Regions from separate parts of the Homo sapiens genome. Here region 2 is linked to region 1. The links are contacts of gene promoters, found by promoter capture Hi-C in human tissues and cell types (Jung and others, 2019). All regions are on one chromosome and are shown on one strand. Each heading gives the region's core, a stretch centred on a gene start or on the middle of the fragment in contact. The rest is flanking DNA. Distances are from core to core; before and after follow the strand shown. Region 1 holds the start of PLEK2 (pleckstrin 2). Region 2 has its middle 91 kb from the start of CCDC196.

What was found. The method cuts DNA at HindIII sites, captures the fragments that hold promoters and counts their contacts. A contact is called where the count stands out against the background at its distance.
Region 2: a contact is called between a fragment that was not itself captured here and the fragment with the promoter of PLEK2 in region 1, in 1 of the 25 tissues and cell types used here (lymphoblastoid cells).

What each region holds. Positions count from the first base shown.
Region 1 is chr14:67,410,142-67,415,098 of GRCh38, reverse strand. It overlaps PLEK2 (pleckstrin 2), which reads left to right and starts at 2,934. Exons shown (of 9, transcript NM_016445.3): 1 at 2,934-3,081. The coding sequence starts at 3,040. It also overlaps a transcript of GPHN not described here. The HindIII fragment of the contact is 7,301 bases long and covers 1-4,957 here.
Region 2 is chr14:66,392,858-66,397,814 of GRCh38, reverse strand. No RefSeq gene overlaps it. Among named protein-coding and RNA genes, the nearest start is that of CCDC196, 91 kb to the left of the region's middle. The HindIII fragment of the contact is 7,387 bases long and covers 1-4,957 here.

The DNA.
Region 1 (4,957 bases), core at 1,685-4,184:
AAGGATTTTTTGAAGTCTTTTCCAGTTCTGCAGACAGAGCCCTTCCAGGCCTGCAGCCCCCCTCTCACTGCAGGATGCTCTGATGCAGGTCGCTGCTGGGGGCATTGCCCTGTATTTGCCAGGAGCCAGCCTTGAGCTCTGTTAGCCTGTATTCTGGCCCTGGTTTTACCACTAACTGGCTGCAAGACCTTGGACAAGTCATTTTATTTCCCTGGGCTTTGAGGGTCCTCATTTATAAAATGAAGCATCCGGATTTGGTGATCTTTAGGGATTAGATTCTGATTCTGTGATTCCGGTAAACTCAAGAAGTCCAGGCATTTATTGTGAATAAGTTTCCATGATTTATCCTTTTCCACTCTATGTATCTTAAACAGGGGATTCTTATCTGAAGCTAAAGGAATGAATCTCTAATGATAGATTCTCACATCAGGCTGTGAGTCACCTATACTTAAACACAGACCTAATAGTTTTCTGCAACTCAGCACCCTAGGCATTATCTGTCCCTGTCCCTTCGGGACAAAAAGGGGAGGAGCTGAGAGGGCCAGGGACCCTTCCACATCAGCCTCCAGGCCTGAGAGGGAGAGGAGGGGTGTCTCTCTGAAAGCTTCTTGCTCGTCCCTGCCCCCTCCCCCAGCTGTTTACTGCTGTCTGCTTCCTTCTGTCTCCATCCTCTTCCCTATGGGTGAGTTGGGCTTATGTCATCATGGTTCCCTGGTGGGCTGGTGGCTCAGCCACCACAGCCTGGGGAAGGAAGGGGTATGACTCATGCCCCAGATCCAGTGAGTCAGGCAGGGTGGGCTGGACCAGGGGTTTCCTAGGACAGGAAGCAGGTTCTAGGTGTGCCTTAACTTCTTCCTGGCAGGAGCCCTGCCAGGAGAAGGTATCCATCTCTTTCCCATTCCCATTTCTGTGAATTCATTCAAGAACCCCTCCTGCCAAAGAAAATGCCACTTCTTCTAAGCCTCAGAAGATTGTGTCTGGGTGGGGCCAAGACAGCCTCTTTGAGGAAGGAGATGGATAGACCACAGTTAGAGCCGAAGAGGATGAGAACTTCCCAGCTCAACCTCTCAAGTCCTGGCTTTCAGCCCAGCTAGGTTTCAGAGCTGGGACAATTCCTTAGGAGGCAAGAGTATTTGCAATGCCCTGGAGCTGCATAACCTTGGGCAAGTTATTTAACTACTTGGATTCAGTTTCCTTGACTGGAAAATGACATAATAAACACCTCATGGGGTTGTTGTACTTTAGATAAAACCTAGCACCTACTACTACAGGCCTGGCTTCAGAAGGTGACCAGCTGATGTTCATTCTGAATTGGAATGGAAGCCCCACTGCTTTGGGGCTTCCTGGGAAGTCTGAAGGCCAGTTAGTGCAGAAGGCTAGAGTGGGCCATTGGGCTGGCACGCAGTGACCCAGACCCTGCGAGTTTTCCTTGGGGCTGGCAGGTGGGAGTGGGGTTGGGGGGATGTAATATGTCTACTACAGACATGTAGAAGCAACACTGTGTCAAGAGCTCCAGGGCAGGGACTGGCCTGGGAGCTGGCTTCAGTCTGGTTCTGAAAGGCACCCCCCGCCTTCCACAAGCTGGTTCACCTTCTTCCTCTCTAGAGCCTTCTCTTCCCTTACAGGCATCTGAGGGCCTTTCCCATGCCTGGTGAAGAGTCCTGACAGGGCCCTTCAAACTGGAGCACAAATAATATGGACCGGCCCCATGACTCATGCCCACAATCCCAGCACTTTGGGAGGCTGAGGCAGGAGGACTGCTTGAGCCCAGGAGTTCGAGACCAGTCTGGACAATATAGTGAGACCCTGTCTCTATAAATAAAAATAAATTTTAAAAAAATGTGTGACTGTGTTCTAAGGATTGTTAGACAGAATCAGTACTATTTGACTGAGTTTCCTTCTGTTCCAGGCTCCAATATGGCCTGATAGAACATTGTTGTTGATCCTATCTATTTAAAATGTTAGCATTTTGTTCATCGTGGATTTTTTGACATTAATTTTGATTTTAAAAAATGCATTAAAATATTATTTTTCTAGGTCTTACACGGTGGCTCTTGCCTGTAATCCCAGCACTTTGGGAAGCCCAGGCCGGAGGATTGCTTGAGGCCAGGAATCAAGACCAGCCTGGGCAACATAGCAACACCCTATCTCTACGAAAAATAAAAATAAACCAGCCAGGCATGGTGGTGCACTCCTGTAGTCCTAGCTACTTGGGGAGCTGAGGCAGGAGGATCTTAAGCCCAGAGTTTAAGGCTGCAGTGAGCTATGATCACACCACTGCACTCCAGCCTGGGTGACAGAGAAAGACCCTGTCTCAAAAAACAAACAAAAAACCCCAAAAAACCAATCATCTCTCTCTATATATAATTTGTCTAGGTTACTGGACTCCTTGGTGCCCCCTTAAATTTTGTCCTTAATGATGGAATTTTCGGCTTCATCTTTTTTGAGGGAGCGGGGTATATCCTGCGGACAGGGGGCCCTGCAAACTGTGCCTGCCGCCTTAAAACTGTGACCTTCCTGTTACTGAGAGGTCTTCTCTGCCCCCATCAGAGGCCAGGATAAAATTCCCATACCAGTTTCGGCTCACCCACTGTCCCATCTCCTACTTGCAATGAGCTCAGGAATGGCTCCAAATCCTGGAGTCCTGTCGGTTATGTTCAATTCGATAAGCGTTCCTCGAGGGCAATGCGCTAAGTGCCCGGGAAGCACCTGGCGAAGGACGCTGAGCAGAGAGACTGGAACAGTGAGGGGCGCGGGGCGCACCTGGATGGGGCGGGGTTGGCCGCTCTGTACCTGGAGGACCAACCACCGACCCTGGAGCACCTTTGGGTGGAAACGTCACGTCAGAAATCCCGACTTGGTCTGACTTCCTGCCCCGGGGCCTCAGGCTCTGGACACGCGCCAGGGAGGCGTCGCCCTGCCGCGTCGGAGCTGCTTCCTGGGCGCCGTGGGCGCGGACTGCGCGGGCTGCGCGGGTGCCGAGGAGCGCGAGGCGCGGGGAAGGCGCACCTGGGGTGGCCCTGGCGTGCGGGCGGCGACATGGAGGACGGCGTGCTCAAGGAGGGCTTCCTGGTCAAGAGGGTGAGTGCGCGTCGAGCTTCGGGACATTGCCCGGGTGGGGCCCCGCCGACGCGGCTCCCTAGAGCGGGGCCAGACGCGCGCCCCGGAACGGGCATGCTCTGGTTCCCATCCCCAACCCCCATGGTGGGACCGGGCCGCCTGTGGCCCTGATGGGCAGAGCTGCATGTCCGAGGGGACGCGGGGTAAGCGGTGGCTCAGCGCACAGGCAAGGAGGAGAATCCCACTTGGTTAGCGCAGTATGGAGTCGGGGCAGGGGTACTGAAGCGTGTGTCTTAATTAAAACTTGTTAAAATATTATGAATGGTATGATATTTAAATAATATTTACTAAGATAATATAGGCGTGCTCTGTAATTTACAACCTGTGAAGGAGGAATGCTACTATGTGTCTTAAGCACTTACTGTTGGCCAGCCCTGGATATTGTCTCATGTCATCCTCCCAGCAGCCCTGCTTTCATCAAGGGGGAAAACGAAGCCCAGAGGAGTTAGGGAACTTGCTCGGGGCGGTGAAGGCAGTGGGTGGTGGAGCCAGGATCGGGATCAGACCCACTCAGGTTGACCCAAACCTTTACTGCCTCCCCAGTGCCATACACGGTGGGTACTGACATCACTCTATTACAGACGGGGAAACTGAGGACCAGAAAGATGAAGTAGCTTGCCCAGAGCTCCAGAGCCAGTAATAGCTGGGACAGGAACTGCATGTTCTGACCTCCCCTCCTCAGTCCTTCCCCACCACCCCAGGTGGCCCAGGGCAAACGAGTGCAAACAAAAACTCAGTGCCTGGGATTATGGTAGAAGATGAACAAAAGAGCAGCTGCAAAAGGAAGTTTGTTATTTCAAAATTTTTTCCTGATTTGACCTTTTTTTTTTTTTTTTTTTTTTGAGACAGGGTCACCCAGGCTGGAGTGCAGTGGCACAATCCTGGCTCACCACAGCCTCGACTTCCCAGGCTCAGGTGGTCCTCTCACCTCAGCTTCCCTAGTAGCTGGGACTACAGGTATCCACTACTATGCCCAGCTAATTTTTGTATTTTTTTGTGGAGACAGGGTTTCGCCATGTTTCCCAGGCAGGTCTTGAACTCCCGGGTTTAAGTCATCTGCCCACCTTAGCCTCCCAAGGTGCTGGGATAACAGGCGTGAGCCACCACACAGAGCGTAATTTGAACAATGACATTAACACTAACCATTTATACTGCTATGATGGCATAGCAAAGAGACATATAAATCCAGGGCTGAGCTTTCTGGTTCTTCTACTGAGTTTTCAGCTTTGGGAGGGGAATGAAGAGGGATGAGGGGCCCTTCCTTTCATTGCCTCCCGGGGTGGCTGGATCAGCCCTAAAGTCTCACATCACTTTCATTTTCCCCACAAAATGTGTCCACATGATGTTGCACGTTATTTGGTACAGGAGAGCGGTGGCTGTTTGCTGTAAACAGTAAGCAAGGAGGGTAGAAGCTGATGCCAGATCAAGGGTCAGACTGGATAGAGCAGTACAAAGCGCCACGCCCACTTGCCACTGTGGCTGAACTGATAGGCCGGTTTCTCGCAGCATGTGGAGGTGGCTGCACCTCAGACTACACATGGGGAGCTCCTAATCTCACATTTAACTGCGGCTTGGGAGGTGGGAGGGAGAGTGAGAGCTGGGCACGGGGCTTTTTGTTGGCACTGTTGATATAGCTGGGCCCTGGTAGAGCCTGTGGAGGGATGAAGTTAACATGGAGACAGATCCTTCTGATAGAGCTTTGGGAGTTTTGGAGGCCTTCTCCTGTTCCTGGGGGTTACCTTCCATCATTCCCTATCACCCCCACCATGCTGAGAGTCAGAGGAGGGCTAAGGGCAGAGCCACAGAGCTCCCAGGATATCACCAGGAGGATGGGACT
Region 2 (4,957 bases), core at 1,322-3,821, 1.0 Mb after region 1:
GTGATGTTCCCCTTCCTGTGTCCATGTGTTCTCGTTGTTCAATTCCCACCTATGAGTGAGAACATGCGGTGTTTGGTTTTTTGTCCTTGCGATAGTTTGCTGAGAATGATGATTTCCAGCTTCATCCACATCCCTACAAAGGACATGAACTCATCGTTTTTTATGGCTGCGTGGTATTCCATGGTGTATATGTGCCACATTTTCTTAATCCAGTCTATCGTTGTTGGACATTTGGGTTGGTTCCAAGTCTTTGCTATTGTGAATAGTGCCACAATAAACATACGTGTGCATGTGTCTTTATAGGAGCATGATTTATAGTCCTTTGGGTATATGCCCAGTAATGGGATGGCTGGGTCACATGGTATTTCTAGTTCTAAATCCCTGAGGAATCGCCACACTGACTTCCACTATGGTTGAACTAGTTTACAGTCCCACCAACAGTGTAAAAGTGTTCCTATTTCTCCACATCCTCTCCAGCACCTGTTGTTTCCTGACTTTTTAATGATTGCCATTCTAACTGGTGTGAGATGGTATCTCATTGTGGTTTTGATTTGCATTTCTCTGATGGCCAGTGATGATGAGCATTTTTTCATGTGTCTTTTGGCTGCATAAATGTCTTCTTTTGAGAAGTGTCTGTTCATATTCTTCACCCACTTTTTGATGGGGTTGTTTGTTTTTTCTTGTAAATTTGTTTGAATTGATTGTAGATTCTGGATATTAGCCCTTTGTCAGATGAGTAGGTTGCAAAAATTTTCTCCCATTTTGTAGGTTGCCTGTTCACTCTGATGGTAGTTTCTTTTGCTGTGCAGAAGCTCTTTAGTTTAATTAGATCCCATTTGTCAATTTTGGCTTTTGTTGCCATTGCTTTTGGTGTTTTAGACATGAAGTCCTTGCCCATGCCTATGTCCTGCATGGTATTGCCTAGGTTTTCTTCCAGGGGTTTTATGGTTTTAGGTCTAACATGTAAGTCTTTAATCCATCTTGAATTAATTTTTGTATAAGGTGTAAGGAAGGGATCCAGTTTCAGCTTTCTCCATATGGCTAGCCAGTTTTCCCAGCACCATTTATTAAATAGGGAATCCTTTCCCCATTTCTTGTTTTTGTCAGGTTTGTCAAAGATCAGATGGTTGTAGATATGCGGCATTATTTCTGAGGGCTCTGTTCTGTTCCATTGGTCTATATCTCTGTTTTGGTACCAGTACCATGCTGTTTTGGTACTGTAGCCTTGTAGTATAGTTTGAAGTCAGGTAGCGTGATGCCATATCCACTTTTTAATTATTTGTGATGAAAGGAAACTTGGATATCTCCTAAAATGATGTGAAATTTTTCTAAAGGTGACTTTAAAGGAATTTTACTCTTTGCTTTAATAATGTAAATCAGCAGCAAAAATGGGCTGTATAAGGTACTTTCCAACTTGCTATGAGAACTTAAGATTGCCTAAAATGATGAGTAAACAAAAAAGAACAATGTGAAGTGAGCTTTATGAAAACTTCAATGTCTCAAAAAAAGCATTTGCTTATGACATTGTAGTATCATGACCTGAAGATCGGACAACTGCCTCCCTGAGGGCCACCAGGGATATACACATTCTCACGGACTTCCACGACCATTTGTGGGTATCAGCATCTCTAATCATCAAGAAGAAAAATAGTGTGATGGCCTTATTTTCATCTTAGGACTTCATTAATTTTTCTTCACTAAGTGATGAAGTCGAATTATTTTTGGGAAAGAAGTAGAGCTTCATCCTGAGAGTACTGTTGGACAATTTGGCCTTTCCTATCAATTATCTGTAACTCAAACAATCTGAGAAGATAGACAGGCTCAGAATTCTCAGTAAATAATATAAAAATGGAAGCTCACAGATTCCTTTTGACCAAATGTTCTCTAAACTTAATGTTTGCCGTAGAAATTGAACATGTGGTCCTCAGGGAGATTGACTCAATAGGTCTTCAAAGCCAGTAGATGCTTCCAAAATGTTATAGTGTTATAACTTAACCCTCCTCCCCCATTATTTTTTAAAGTCTTGGCTCACTTCTCGGTCATGTCCTTTTTTGGACCCTAAATCTTAATTCGTATTACCTCTCAAAGGGAGAAACATACCATTTCATAACATTAAACACACACACTAAAAGCTGCCTTACAGGTAATGATCTTTAAGCTTCCTTCAGTTTAGCAGTCACCTGGAGTGTCTGTTTTCTAGCTGAGGTTCTGAACTCCCACAGAGGGTTATGAGGCTGTAAACAACTTACTTGTAACTATACTTAAATATGACAATGGGGAACTCCTGAAGATGGCAGCAGCACTTTAAATTTCACCAGACCAGGAAGGGCCTGTGGTTAACACAACCAGAAATCAAATGATGCTGGCAGATTCCTGTTTGTCACCCCTGCTGCACTCAACATTTTCAGCCACTAGTTCAGATTTCAACTTTACTTCTTTGAGCTTTGCACACAACGTGGAGCATAGAAAGAGGGACTTAAAGCCAGAGAAATGTGTATCTAATTCCCCTTTTATCAAAGGAGGGGTTTTTTAAACCTTTCAATGTCACCAGCCCCTCTACTTTCCTCCTAAACATGGCTTCTCTCTATACTTGAGTGTGAACGGAAGGAATAGACACAGAGATTGTAGAGCATACACTGATTTTAAAAGTGATATTACTCTCCTTTGTCTAGTTACACTATTAGACAAGGAATGAACAAATTATTCCTTCTTGCTTTCTGTTTCCAGAAATGCCCATTAAAGAAAATTAATGTTTATTCTGTAATTGCTGAAAACTGTAAGTTGCAATGCCTACGTGTAAGAGGTATCTATAAATACAAATCTGAGTCTTTCCCACTTGATTTGAAAAGCTATATTATTCATATAATTTTCTATGTGAAGCTGAAGATCTAAAACATATTTTCTAGGCTGGTTATTATGTTTACATTTATAAGTATTTTTAACTTAATTAGATGTTTAAATTGTAAAGACAATATGAGCTTATATAAAAAGTCAAACAATTCATAAACATATATAGATGGTAATTCCTCTGCTCTATCCTACTTCCTCAGGTAACTGTCAAATAGGCTAAAAAAATTCACACAAAAAAGTGAGATTGTATTGTACACAGTACTGCAACTTTCTCTGGATCAAGAGATACAGATTGAACTCACATAATAGCTGAATACTATTCCATAATATGAATGTAACTTAACTTAATTTATTCAGCCATAGCTCCTGTGATAGACACTTATTTCCAGTTTTGCCATCACCACAAGCAATGCTGCACTTTCATTATGCCTTTTCTACTGATGCTTTTATTCTTGTAGGCTAGAGTACCCAAAGTGGAATGTTGCACAGAGGGTTTTATGTACTTTAAGTTTTAGTGCATACTGCAGGATTACCTTCAAAAAATGCTGCAACAATATATGAGTGAATATATGAGGATTTATTTGCCCCCATCCTTACCAGCACTTGATGTTACCAATATTTAAATTTTTTTGCCGACCTGATGGGTAGAAAATGGTATCATGTTTGAACCTGCATTTCCCTGGCAAGATTGCATGGCATAGTATCTTAACAGCATGGACCTAGGACCCAGTTCCCTGGCTGTGCAGTGTACTAGCTGCATACTGTGTGGTCTTCACAAATTACATAAATTCTCTGTGCTTCAGTTTCATCTTTCCCATCAAAAATGGGGAAAATAATACCACTTGCCACATAGGATTATTATTGGGATTAATTGAGATAACATTTGCAAAGACTTAGAATGATGCCTGGTGCTTAGAGCAGTGCCTGACATATATTAAGCACTATATGAACTAAATGAATGCATTCTAGTGATGGGGAACATCTTTTCATACATTTACAACTATTTGCATTTCTTCTATTAAATACAAATGTCAAAATATTCAATTTTTAGTGTAAAAATGAATCCTGTTGGGATTTTTTCTTATAAATTTATTACATAATAATATTACAATAATTATTTCCAATAATAATAATGTAAGAAACAGATCTCTGTGGAGTGTATCACAATGTCAGGGTCAGGAGGCCTCAGGACTGGAACAGGGGGCGAAATCCCCCCAGATGGAACTCCATACAAAAGCAGGGGTGAAGCAGAGCTGACCCTGTAAAGTTAAAAACCCAAGTTGAATGGAACCAAAAACCCACAGGTGATTGTGAGACTGAGTGTTTATGTAGCAGTCTATTACACTGACTGCTGTTGTGTGACCTGGACTGTTGGTGGAAGGGTGAGTGGGTGTGACTCTGTACCCAGGGAGTGGGGCTGGTGGGCCAGAGCAGGGTGGGTAATATGCTTATTACCTGGGCGATGAAATGTGTATACCAGTCACCCTCAACATGCAATTTACCCATGTAACAAACCTGCACATGTACCCTCTGAACCTAAAAGTTAGAAAGAAATTTTTCTTTTTGCAGCGCCCCAGATGTTTCAGGCAGCTTCATGTCTCCAGATTGTCTCACCTGATGTTTCCTTTGTGTTCTCCCTCATTAAAAAAAAAAAAGAAGAAGAATGGCTTTTTTTTTCCCACTTTTGAAATCAGATCACTCTTGGGGAAAAGGACAGCAATCTCCACACCCCTTCTCTGAGAAATGCTCCCCTGCTTGGAAATGCCAGATGCAGAGAAGAATTTTGCTGAAATGTTTGAATGAGAAAGAAAATAGAAAGGTTTTGAAAAGTAGAAAAATTTTCTTAATGAAGGAATATTTCAAGGTTAACCCCTTCTAAAAGTGAATTAAACTTTTCTTCCCTAATAGGTAGGACCTCAGTTTACCTGGATAGAGATTTAAATCCATTATTGGCTTTTCAGAGAAAGTGAGATGAGGCAATTGGAAAACAATTTAATTGCCAAGGGTACAATATTCTAGGTAAAAAATAGACATTTTATATCTTGAATTTCAGGATAGCTCAGCTTTCCTGTTGAGACTACTAACCACATACCTCTCTTCTCGTCAG